Linked DNA regions of Homo sapiens: region 2 is linked to region 1. The links are contacts of gene promoters, found by promoter capture Hi-C in human tissues and cell types (Jung and others, 2019). All regions are on one chromosome and are shown on one strand. The core of a region is centred on a gene start or on the middle of the fragment in contact, and the rest is flanking DNA. Distances in the headings are between cores, read along the strand shown.

Region 1 (6,367 bases), core at 304-2,803:
ACATGTGAAATGTAGATTTGCTGTACTCTAATCAGAGCCTCACAAAAATGTGACCACTTGCCTCATAGCCTACTCTCCCCTCTTTCCCCTCCTACCGGCGCTTTTCCCTTAAATATTTGGAAAAAAGTACAGGCCAAAAATCCTACTGTAACCTGTGTTTCTTTTTCCCCAGACACGTCCACGATTTTGGCAGAATAAACCTCTAAATCAGTTGTGATCTGCCTCAGACACTTTTTGCTTTACACAACAATCCAATCATAGCGATTTATTTGGAAATATACCTTCACAAGTTAAATCAGACCACAGCGCTACTGGGCATTATTTATAATGGCAAACTATTGCAAACAATTTAAAACCTATCATAGACATCATAGAAACTATTCTAATAAATTGATACATTTATATAATAGAATAATCCGCAACCTTGAAGGGAATGAAGGAAGGAATAAAGAGAGAGGGAAAGGAAGAAAAGAACGGAGAGAGGGAAGGAGGGACAGACAGGTGTTTAAATTGGGGATGTGCAAGCAATATTGCCTACTTCATTGCCTTCACATTATTTAAAAGCATGTGGTCAAGAAACACTATTATAATAAGCACTTCAGAAATAACTTCTAAAATTACTTTTCCAAAATATGAATCCATACTATACACTTCCTGTAATGTGCACCACATGTAGATGCACACATTTTAACAAGGAAAAGACTAATACTCATATTTGCTTGCTACACACCAGACACTGTTTTAAATGTTTTGCACACGCTAACTCATTTGTTCTTATGGAAATCCTGTAGCGTGCACCGCCACCTCCATGTTTCTAGGCGGAAACTGAGGCACGGGGGCTGCGGCTCCTGGACCCACCTGGCCTTCTCGGCCTGCCTCTCTCCCTCCAGCCGCCCCACATTCTTTTTTCCTAATTGGAAAAAACTATTCACGCTGCTCCTCCAGGGCATTTCAACCTTCTAGAAAGATTCGACAAGATTCGAAACTGTTTATAAAGAGAACGTGCTTGTGCCCGAATGCTGAGTGTGAGCGCGCAGTGATGCCCTAGAGTGCAGTCATCCCGGGCTTGGCGCCCAGCGGGTGGAAATACGGCCGCAGGGTGGAAATGCGGCGGCGGGGCTGCCCAGGCTCCTGTGGGACCCGCGCGGCGCGGGCACGCACATTCTCAGGGACGCGCGTCCTCAGGCCACGAGAACACCTGAAGGCCCCGGCCAGCGTCCTCCCGTGAAGACCCGGACCGGCGTCGTCACCCGCCGCGCAGGCCTAAATCTCAGGTCTTCACCGTCATCTCCCAGCGATCGCAGGGATCTCAGGCACTGACCGCGCCCGTCCCTGCGCACCCGAGCCCCACCCCACGCCCCCACGCCCCCACGCCTCCACGCCCGGCACTCTGGACGCGCGCGGACGGAGGGGCAGTGCCTACTACGCAGGCGCACGCTGCGGGCGACAGGACCAGGCAGCAACATTGCCACGCGGATCCGCGCCGGCCAATCAGCATGGCCAGGGGCGGGGCTTCCCTGAGGCGCGCCGGGAGGCGGCGGCCCACTTCCGGCAATAACCGCCTGGTCGCCGTCAGGTGCGGGCCCAGGTGGCCGGCGCGCCCGTTGGGCACTGGGGGACGCGGGCGCGTCAGGTGAAGACTGGGGGCCGCAGGCGCGCTAGGTAGGTGCGGGGTGCAGCGGGCGCGTCAGGTGAAGACTTGGCGCCGCAGGCGCGTTAGGTGAAGATTGGGGCTCGCGGGCGCGTCAGGTGGGGACGACGGGCCACGGGCGAGTCAGGTGAAGACCGGGGGCGGCGGGCGCGTCAGGGGAAGACATGGGGTCGCGAGCGCGTCAGGTGGGGACGGGGCCTGTGGGAGGGTCAGGTGGGGACCGGGGGCCTCGGGCGCGTCAGGTGGGGACGGGGTTGTCGCGGGCGCGTCAGGTGGGGACGGGATTGCCGCGTGCGCGTCTGCTGAAGTCTGGGTCCGCGGGCGCGTCAGGTAGGGACGATGGGCCGCGGGCGCGTCAGGTGGGGTCTGGGGGCGGCCGGCGGGTGTGGAGGGTTCATTCAGGGAGCTGCGGGCGAGTCGGGTGGGCACGGGGGCCGCCCACAGGTGCACCGCGCGTCCTCAGCCGCTTCCCCTGCCCACCTTCTGCGACCCCTTCCCGCCCCCACCCTCCTGGGCCGTCTTGCAGGCCCGAGCTTGTGTCCGCCTCGCTGGGCAAGGTGTTTCGGGGACGACTCCTGCCGGCGTTTGCCCTCCGGGCTCGGTCCTTGCCTCTTCGCCGGTGGGCACCTGCTAGGTGTGACCCCTCATTCCTCCAGGCCACTCTGCCCCGTCTGCTGCTTACCTTTTTTTCCCTACTCCTGGTCTGTGGCTCTGGCTCTGTCTCTGTCTCCTCCCTTAATTTCTTTCCATGCTTATTTTTCTTGCAGCAGACACTAATTTTGCATCCTTCCCCTCACAGTAAGCTCAATTTGACCTTTTTCTCAATTAGATTCCACCTCTGTCCTTGGGCCTATTCAAACTCATTTTGAAGACTAAAGAATCTAGAGAACCATTTCTTCCCTTATGAAGCTGTCTCTTGCTGCCTCCAAATCCTTACCATCCGGCCCTAATCAGAAAAGACGTTTACTCTTTCATATTCTGTTTTCTCCTCGTCTTTACGTGTTTACCTTTCCCATGAGGAATCTGTGATTATCTGTAAGTCCTTAGAGTACAACTTATTTCTGACTCTCAGCCCTCAGTTTGCCATTTTTTAAAATGTCCTTTCTGGATCAAATTTGTCCACACTTATAAGCAAAACAAATAGGGAAACACATGTGGTCTTTTAAGATGGATTGGAGTTTTCTTTCCTGTGTTGTATTCCTTGTTTTAGTGCCTTTGTATTTAGGTTCATCATTACTTGAAATCATATTAGTGATCTGTAATAGACGGTAAAAAAAAAAAAAGTTAAAAAGCTTATAATTTAATGGCATCTGTTTTAATAGGGTTTTCAGGAACTGCTATTATAAACATAGTGGTTAGGAGCATGGATCCTGGAGTGAGACTCCATCATTTTGAATCCCAGCTCCACTGAACTCTTTGCCTCAGTGTCTTCATCTTTAAAATACATAATGAAACTTGTAAAACAAGAATAATGTTTTCTACCTTGGAGGACAGTGTGAGGATTAAATGAGACAACATATGTAGATTGTTTAGAGTAATGCGTAGCCTATGGTAAGCTCTAATAAATGTTTGCCATTATTATTGTTAAGAAAAAATATGCTTGTTGAAGGAAAGACATTTTTTTTTGTTCTGAGTCTCTCATGCCAAGAGTTTCCACCAGCAAATGAACTTCATGAAGTCCTTTTCTACTGAAGTATCCCACCCACGTGTCCTACCACATGAAATAGAAATTAAGGGAAGATTTTAAATAGTTAATCATTGTAGGCTGTCTGAAATAAGTTGGCATAAAATGTGCTTAAAATTTGCAAATTATACAAGCTACACCCTTTGAGTGCTTGCTCTTAAAAGTTTAATAATTTTCAGGAGTAATTTCTAGTTTTTTTGTGTTTGTAAATTCCCAAAATAAAGGTAATTTTAATTAAAATAAGCGTATAAAGCTCTAGCAATTCACATTTTTTAGCTGAACAAATACATTCCCATTGAAAGCCGTGGGTCATCATCATTCTATAAAACTTTAGTAGCATTGTTTTCTGATTTGCAAACTCAGAAGCCTCAGTTTGGGAGTATTTTTGAAAACTTGAGATCCAGACCCCAGACGTTTTAAATTGCAACTTGTCTTTTTTTGTTGGTGGTGTTGTTTTTAATCTGCATCCAGAGTTTGTGCTTTAGTTCATGAGCTGTATAGATTATGCTTTAAGAAAAACTTCATTGTGATCCATAGAGCATACCATAACAAATCTGTGAAGCACACACATCTTCAGAGAAACAAATCTTTTCCTCTGTGTTGAAAATAAGCCTTTGGGCATGGACTATTTTTTTATTTCCATGGCTGCATTTCACTCCTTTCAACCCTTAAAAAATCAAACTTATCAGCTGAGAAATTCAGACCAAACTATTCATTTTTCACTGAGTTGCCAAAATGAATTATCTGTAGAGTTTAGGTAGTTGTAAAAGAATTGGTTATATTAATGGAAACAGTAGGCAGGCTCTTTATGTAAATGTTATAAAGATTGTGAAACTAGAAGATAAGTGTATTAAATGATGAGTGGGCATAGTGTCTAAATAGGTAAGTACAATATTTGTGTGTCATCAAGTTTTAAAATATTTTTTCAGCTGAGGATACCGGGATGTACATAGGACAGTCATCCAGATAAGGTTCTGTTGGCAAGATATTTGTTGCCTAGTTGTTTTTTTCTGTCTCCATGTTTTTCATTTGATCTATCCTACAAGCCCTAGAAAATTATTATTCTCAAAACAACACTGCTCACGCTGATCTGTTGCTGAAAAACGTTTAATTACTGACAGAATAAAGTCTAAACACCTTTGATATTCTTCTATGACCTGGCTTCTAGTCGCTTATGTACCAGTCCTCTGATAAACTTTCTCCATTTTATCCCATCTTTTCTGCTTATTTTTCTCAAACTGTGGCACACATTTTGCCCTTTATACTTATTCACCCACCATTCCCATGATTGATATTTTTTGCCTTGCCTCTCCATTCATTTAAGATCTAACCATGCTTCAGGGCGAAGATCGAGTCCTAGTTTCTAGTCAGAGCTTTCCCAGCTGATTTGCTTTCTGCTCAAATTAACTTTATTCTCTCTTTACCACAAGTTACAAGATTGTGGACATATCTGTATGTATGTATACATGCACACTCACATATCTACATGTAAACACACTTTATTATATTACACTTGTATGGAATTTGTGTGTGTTTTGCTATTGTTCTTTTTTAGTTCCTTAGCTAAATTGCACACTTTTGAGGGCAGGAACATCTAGCATAATAACATGTAGTTGGTGCTCAAATGTTTGTCGTTGAAGTAATCCTGTATTTGGTCTGTTAGCAATATTTTTCAGGATTATCCACTTGATTTTTTTTTTTAATATAGATTTCTGAATCCACAGTTTCAAGTTGATATTGAGAGATAATTTGATAATTATCAGAGATGTTCCTAGCAGCCATTTTCTGTTGAATGTGTTTTATGAGACTCAAGGTGCCACTTCAGTCATCTGCTACTTCATGGTCTTTGCTGCCTTTGGTGGGAATGTTCTTGAAAATCATAAAATCAGCTGTATGCTATTAGAGACAGTTTTAGATAACTTTAGGTCGACTGAACATGGGCATTGAGTTTTGCATTTTAGGATGTTCAGTAGTTGTGAAGCAGTTCTGTGAGACAAAGTTTATCAAAATTGTGCTGAAATTTAAGGAATAAAGTATTTTCTAAAGCAAGAATTTAAATTAATCATTATGTGACTGAAAAAGACATGTTCTGACTATAAGTCAGTTTAGCAAGGTTTGAGATTTTCTTCGTGTAAAGAATAATTACTTCATCATTTCCTACACCAGTCAAGAATTAAGCATTTGTGGTTGATCCAGGAATATTGTTGAAGTCTATGTAATTTCCTTCCTTTTTTTTCTGTATCTTCTAGGATTGTATAAGTGCCCATTTAATAGCTTGTTTTTTGTTAATTATACTAAATATAGTTGGGAGGTGGTGTTTGGAGATGTTCATCTCTCATTTATTCTCCATGATGTAAATATTCTACATTTTTCTCTACGATATAAATATTCTATATTATAAAATACTCAAGTCTGTTCGGGACGTGAAATTAAAGTAATACATTACAGAAACCACTTTTGCTTGAGTAATTCAGCTACCTTTCTGTAGCTAAATTCAACGTATATTTTCAACTCTTGCCATGCTTGGCATTTTTATAACATTTTCGTCTCTGTCGACCATTTCTTTCCTGAAATACATTTTTCTCCTGACTTCCTACTTCTCCCTCTACCTTTTTGGCTCTTCCTTTTCAGTTTTTCTTCTTGGCTTATATCTGCCGATCCCTTAAATGGTGATGTTTCTTAGGGTTTTTTTCTTGGCTCTCTTGATTTCCCTCTCGACATATTCTGTGATATTATTTGTGTGGTTTTGATTAGTGTCTGAATGCTCATGATTTTCCTCTTTCTCTCTAGTCTAACTCTCTTCTGAACCATGGATGTATATATTTATTCATTCAGTAAATAAATACTTATAGAGCTCCTGTTGTTTTCCTGGCATTGTTCAAGGTAATGGAATACGGACCTGAACAAGACATTGCATTTTCTTGGAGGAAAACAGATGATAAACACGCTAATCATTTCAGACAGCCCTTACAACTATGAAGGCACTAGATAATGGCTTAGACTGGTAGGGAGGGGGTTGAGGCAGCAGAAGG
Region 2 (6,178 bases), core at 2,623-5,122, 1.3 Mb after region 1:
TTTCCAGTGAACTCACTGGAGACAGCAGGAAGGCACCAAGCCATTCAGGAAGGATCCGCCCCCACAACACAGTCACCTCCCACCAGGCCCACCTCCAACACCGGGCGTCACATTTCCACAGGAGATTTGGAGGGGACACACATCCAACTATATCAATTGGCTTGTTCTTGAAAAAAAAAAATCACTTGTAAGGAATTGTGCTGGGCTCAAATACAATGACCCCTCCTCCCCTGTGGGAGCCTTGCTGTCTCCCAGAGCTCCTGCTACCCCCACAGACTCCCTCCTCTGCCCCCAGTGCCCTATCCCCATGAAAATCCCCTTTACTTGAAAACCAAGCCTGCCTGGCTCACCCCTCTCACCTGGGACTCCGACAGCCAAACATTGTTGTGGTTGTGAATGCTGGGATGAGAAAGCTGGAATGTTTAGCTTTGGGCTCACATTTCTCTACCCAGGTTGAGCTGGGCAATAGGAAATAACCTCTAATTTAGAATTCTAAACACGAAACATATTCACTATCTGATATAGTAGTAAGTTTAGGGGAGGAAAAACCCCTGAAACTCAGCCCCCAAACAGCACAAACCCTGACTGGAGTGAGATTTTTTGTCCCCACCCACATGCCTGCCATGAGTAACAGAAATTGCTTCCTGAAGATAATACATCCAGATCCTCAAATCATTTCTACAACCTTTAATAGGCAACAGCAACATTCAACCAAAACTTACCTGACAGAGATAAGACAAGAAAGAAATTACCGACAGCCAAGAAAAACAGGCAATAGGAAGAGATCGCGGGAATTTCAGGGGCTGGAGTTATGAGATGCGTCCTCTAAAAAACATGGGGTTACTCCATCCAAGTACTGAAGTGAGCCGATGGAGAATTTCACCAGAAAAGTGAAAATTATAATAATAAAAGAATCAAGTAGAAGTTTTAGAAATGTGAAATGTGATACGGAAAATAAGAACTCTAACGTGGACTGTAGGCAGCAAAGGAGGGGACGGGAAAAGTGGGCGAGTCCTCCGAAGCATTTGCACAGCCAGGACAGGTGGAGAACGGAGGAGGGAAATGGGCAGGGGGCACAAGAGACCAGGGCGCTCAGGACGGGGGAGCAGGTCCTCTGTGCACACACAGCCCCAGAAGAGAAGAGAGAATGGGGCAAAAGAATCATAAAGGAGGTGAGAACCAATGATTATTTTTATTTATTTATTTATTTTATTTATTTATTTATTTTTGAGACAGAGTCTCAATCTGTCACCCGGGCTGGAGTGCAGTGGCGCGATGTTGGCTCACTGCAACCTCTGCCTCTGGGGTTCAAGTGATTCTCCCACCTCGGCCTCTTGAGGAGCTGGGACTATAGGCGCCCACCACCATGCCCAGCTAATTTTTGTATTTTTAGTAGAGATAGGTTTTCACTGTGTTGGCCATGCCAGTCTTGAACTCCTGACCTTAGGTGATCCACCTGCCTCGGCCTCCCAGAGTGATGGGATTACAGGAGTGAGCCACCATGCCCGGCCCAATGATTTTTTTTTTTTTTCTGAGACGGAGTCTTGCTCTGTCACCCAGGCTGGAGTGCAGTGGTGCAATCTCAGCTCACTGCAACATCCACCTCCTGAGTTCAAGCAATTCTCCTGCCTCAGCCTCCCGAGTAGCTGGGATTACAGGCACCCGCCACCACACCCAGCTATTTTTTCTATTTTTAGTAGAGACCGGGTTTCACCATGTTGGCCAGGCTGGTCTCGAACTCCTGACCTTGTGATCTGCCCACCTCAGCCTCCCAAACTGCTGGGATTACAGGATGGTTTTTAATAACCAATCAAAGTCAAGTTAAACTCCAGCAGAAACAGATGAGTTTCCTGATGGTTGTGCACAGGCTTCGGACCCAAGGCAAGGTCTTCCTGTCTCGAGGCCTTCTGCCATCATCCTGCCTCCCCAGACATACCCCAGTGATATCGTTTGGATGTTTGACACCCCCAAAACCTCAGGCTGACATTGGATCGCCAGTGTTGGTGCCGGCCTAGTGGGAGGTGTCTGGTCACTGGTGTGGTGGGAGGCGTCTGGGTCACTGGTGTGATGGGAGGTGTCTGGGTCACTGGTGTGGTGGGAGGTGTCTGGTCATTGTGGTAGGAGGTGTCTGGTCACCGGTGTGGTGGGAGGTGTCTGGTCACCGGTGTGGTGGGAGGTGTGTGGTCACTGGTGTGGTGGGAGGTGTGTGGTCACTGGTGTGGTGGGAGGTGTCTGGTCATTGTTGTGGTGGGAGGTGTCTGGTCACTGGTGTGGCCCCTACATAAATGTCTTGGTGCCATCCTCACTCTATTTGTCTCATTTCATTAGCTCTCGCGAGATCTGATTGTTAAAAAGAGCCTGGCAGCTCCTTTCCTCTCTCTCTGTCCCTCTTTATGGCTTTTTTCCTCTTGGCATGTGATGCCTGCTCCGCTTCCCATTCCGCCATGACGCCACGAGCAGAATGATTTCTCACATTTTTTTTTTTTTTTTGAGACGGAGTCTAGTTCTGTCACCCAAGCTGGAGTGCAGTGGTGTGATCTTGGATCACTGCAACCTCTGCCTTCTGGGTTCAAGCGATTCTCCTGCCTCAGCCTCCCGAGTAGCTGGGATTACATGTGCCTGCCATTACGCCCAGCTAATTTTTGTATTTTTAATAGAGGCGGGGTTTCACCAATGTTGGGAAGGCTGGTCTCGATCTCCTGACCTCAGGTGATCCGCCCCCCTCAACCTCCCAAAGTGCTAGGATTACAGGCATGAGCCACTGCGCCCGGCCAATTTCTAATATTTCGGAGGCCTCACCAGTCGCAGATGCTGGCACCATGCTCCCTGTGAAGGCTGCAGAGAGGTGAGCCAAACACACCTCTTTTCTTTATAAATTACTCAGCTTCAGGTAGTCCTTGATAGCAAAACAAATGGACTAAGACACTCATCCTAACTCAGACCCCAGCTTCCCCATGAAGCTGTCAGCAAGACAGCAGCTATGCTCCCCTCCTCCCTCCAGAGTCTGATGGCCTCAGTCCCAGCACGTAGTTCAACCTCCAACTTGACTCTGCCTACCTCATGCAAATGAGCCTATCTCTTTATTCTTCAGGATCCAAAATGGCAACTCCCTGAAGCCAGAGAACCCATCAGAACTTAAAAGTAGACAATTTTTTTAGAGCAGTTTTTGGCTCACAGTAAAATGCACAGAAGGTACAGACACCTGCCATTCGCTGCCTGTCCCCTCTCCCCTGCACGCATAGCCACCCCCCACCAGCAAGTGTGGTGCATTTGTTACCATTGGTGAACCCACATGGACACGTCTTCATTGCCTGGAGTCCGTGGTTTACACGAGGGCTCGCTCTAGGTGTTGTTCATCCTCTGGGTCTGCACAGATGTACACTGACTCTTATCCACCATGACAGTGCCATGCAGAGTAGCTTCACTGCCCTGAAGATCCTCTGTGCAGTGTAACTTCATCACCGTTAGGAAGAAAACAATCTCTTTTAACATCACGTGTGAATAAGACAGATGATGTCCCAGCCCACCATGGGGCTTCCCATTCTTGTGAGGTGGGAAGGGCAGGACAGAAAATAAACAGTCCACAAAGAGATAAAAATAATTATCATGTCATTTTTATGACATGATAGATCATTCTATCATGAATGTTTAAGATCATTCAATGAGTGAAATGCAAGGACATGAGCGAGTAAGAGAGGGAGGCAGGCCCGACAGGTAGTGGCGTCCCAGGTGGTAGCTCCTCCTCGGAGCCCAGCCAGAGTTGAGACCTGAAGGATGAGGAGGACTTGGTCCTTGGACAATAGAAGAAATAAAGACCCAGGTAGAGAGGCAAAAGCAAATGTGAAGGCCCAGAAGCTTGAAAAGGCTGAGCCTGTCCTGGGAGTTATCAGAGGCACAGTCTGATCAGAGTGGAGTCAATAAGGAGTGGTGGTGAGACCCACGTTGGGTAAGGACAGAGACGTCCCATGCTTGACTCCTTGGACATGTGACCTCAGCTTCCTTAGCTGTAAAACGTGACAGGTGGCCAGGCGCGTTGGCTCATGCCTGTAATCCCAGCACTTTCGGGAGGCCGAGGCGGGTGGATCACGAGGTCAGGAGATCAAGACCATCCTGTCTAACACTGTGAAACCCCGTCTCTACTAAAAATTCAAAAAATTAGCCAGGCGTGGTGGCACGCAGCTGTAGTCCCAGCTACTAGGGAGGCTGAGGCAGGAGAATCGCTTGAACCCGAGAGGCGGAGCTTGCAATGAGCAGAGATCACACCACTGCACTCCAGCCTGGGCAAGAAAGCGAGACTCCGTCTCAAAAAAAAACAAAACAACAACAACAAAAAACACAAAACAAAATATGACAGGTGCCACTTGCTGTTGTGGAGGACATCCAGATGCTGTGAGTGATAAAGAAATGCGTGATGGCAGAATCTTTGTTTCCAAGAGTTTATAATTTGGTGGAAATAAAGTGGAGAAGCAGGAAGACCTACACAGTGGACTGGCAGAGCAGCAGAGTCCCTTGACCGTGCTGCAGGGCATTTCAAAGAGGACGGCAACGGGAGGTAAAAGAGGACGGCGAGGGGAGGAGGTGTCTGCTCCCAGGGAAACCTCCCCTGGGTGTTTGGCGATGTCTTCCCCACGTTCACATGATAACCTTTATCTGTCATGAGCAGGTGAAGGTTCAGATAAACACACAAACAGTGATCCTGTCAACATTCTTGTGCATGACCTTGTGTGCAATATGTTTGCATTTCTGCTGGTCGTGGGGAATCACAGTGTCGCCATGGAAGCTTCAGTTCAGTTTCAGTGGTTATTGGTCCAGGGTCAATGCAAAAATGTTACTTCCCCCCAGGGGTGCGCAAGTGAGTTCAGTTTCCACACAGTAGTGTGTGAGTGAGTTCAGGCCCCGCCGTGGTGTGTGAGTTCAGTCCCCTCAGTGCTGTGTGAGTGAGTTCAGTCCCCCCATGGTGTGTGAGTGAGTTCAGTTCTCCTCAGCAGTGTGTGAGTTCAGTTCCCACCAACAGTGTCTGAGTTCAGTTTCTCTGTATCCACACTGATTCCTGCTCCTCTTTCCTGACTTTGCTGTCCTGGCGGCTATGTAGTGATATCTCACTGTGGTTGTAAGCAGCAGCCACTGATGAATAACACAGGGGAGCATCCGTTGAGTAGCCATTTTGATCTTTTCTTTGGTACAGTGCTTGTTCAGGTCTTTTGCCCATTTCTCTATTTAAATCGCTTGTTTTTTCTAATTGATTTGTAGGAATTTCTTGCATGCTCTAAACTCAGGGGTCAAGGCTGTGGTCTGGTGTTGGTGTGGGTGTTGCACTCCTGCTGTCCCAGTCCCAGGTACTTGGGAGGCTGAGATAGGAGGATCGCTTGAGCCTGGGACGTCAGGGCTGCAGTGAGCCGAGGTTGCACCAGTGCACTCCAGCCTGGGTGACAGAGTGAGATCCTGTCTCAAAAATAATAAAATAAAATAAAATAAAATAAAATAAAATAAAAATAGTCAGGGATCAGCAAACTTTTCCAGTAATGAGCCAGAAAGTTAACCTTTTAGGCTTTGTGAGCCATGTGGTCTCTGTGGGACCTTTTCTCCTGCTGTCACGTAAAACAGCTGCAGACAATACTAAACCCATGAGCCTGGTGCTGTTCAGTTTATCTTATTTTGATGGACTTGAAAACGTGAACAGCATATCATTTTTACATGTCACAAAACATCATTCTCCTTCTACATTTTTGAACCATTAAAAAAAAATAAAATTCATGGTTAGCTTACAGAGAATACAAAATAAATGGATGGTGGACCTGATTTGGCCTGAGGGCCTTGTTTTGCCAGCCCTGCTCTAGATGAAGATCCTGGGTCAGTTACACACCTGGCAATAGCTTCCCTCAGGTTCCTAATGTTTTCCTTTGAGAAATGAAAGTGTTTTCCTTGGATGCAGCCCTGGTTCTCCTTCTTCCTTCGGGCAGGTGGCTGGTTTGGACTGGAAGGAAAGTGCATCTCCCCTGCTCTTTAGTGTCCTCTGGAGGGATAGGAGCACCCACAGATCTGCAATGATGGGTGCCAGCCGCCCCCGGCGGGGGAATGAGTGCTCACTATGAGGCAAGTGACCACCACGAGCAGGAAGGTCCCTCCCACTGAGGGACGGCTTGTGCAGTCCTGGCCTGGGGGCTGATCTCCACCATGG

The links. The method cuts DNA at HindIII sites, captures the fragments that hold promoters and counts their contacts. A contact is called where the count stands out against the background at its distance.
Region 2: a contact is called between a fragment that was not itself captured here and the fragment with the promoter of FBXO25 in region 1, in 1 of the 25 tissues and cell types used here (dorsolateral prefrontal cortex).

Annotation. Positions count from the first base shown.
Region 1 is chr8:405,405-411,771 of GRCh38, forward strand. It overlaps FBXO25 (F-box protein 25), which reads left to right and starts at 1,554. Exons shown (of 10, transcript NM_183420.2): 1 at 1,554-1,662. RefSeq lists a silencer at 1,277-1,686. The HindIII fragment of the contact is 7,830 bases long and covers 1-4,763 here.
Region 2 is chr8:1,737,411-1,743,588 of GRCh38, forward strand. LOC105377778 (a long non-coding RNA gene) reads right to left here. Exons shown (of 4, transcript XR_007060784.1): 4 at 5,409-5,442. Among named protein-coding and RNA genes, the nearest start is that of CLN8, 23 kb to the right of the region's middle. The HindIII fragment of the contact is 5,059 bases long and covers 1,344-6,178 here.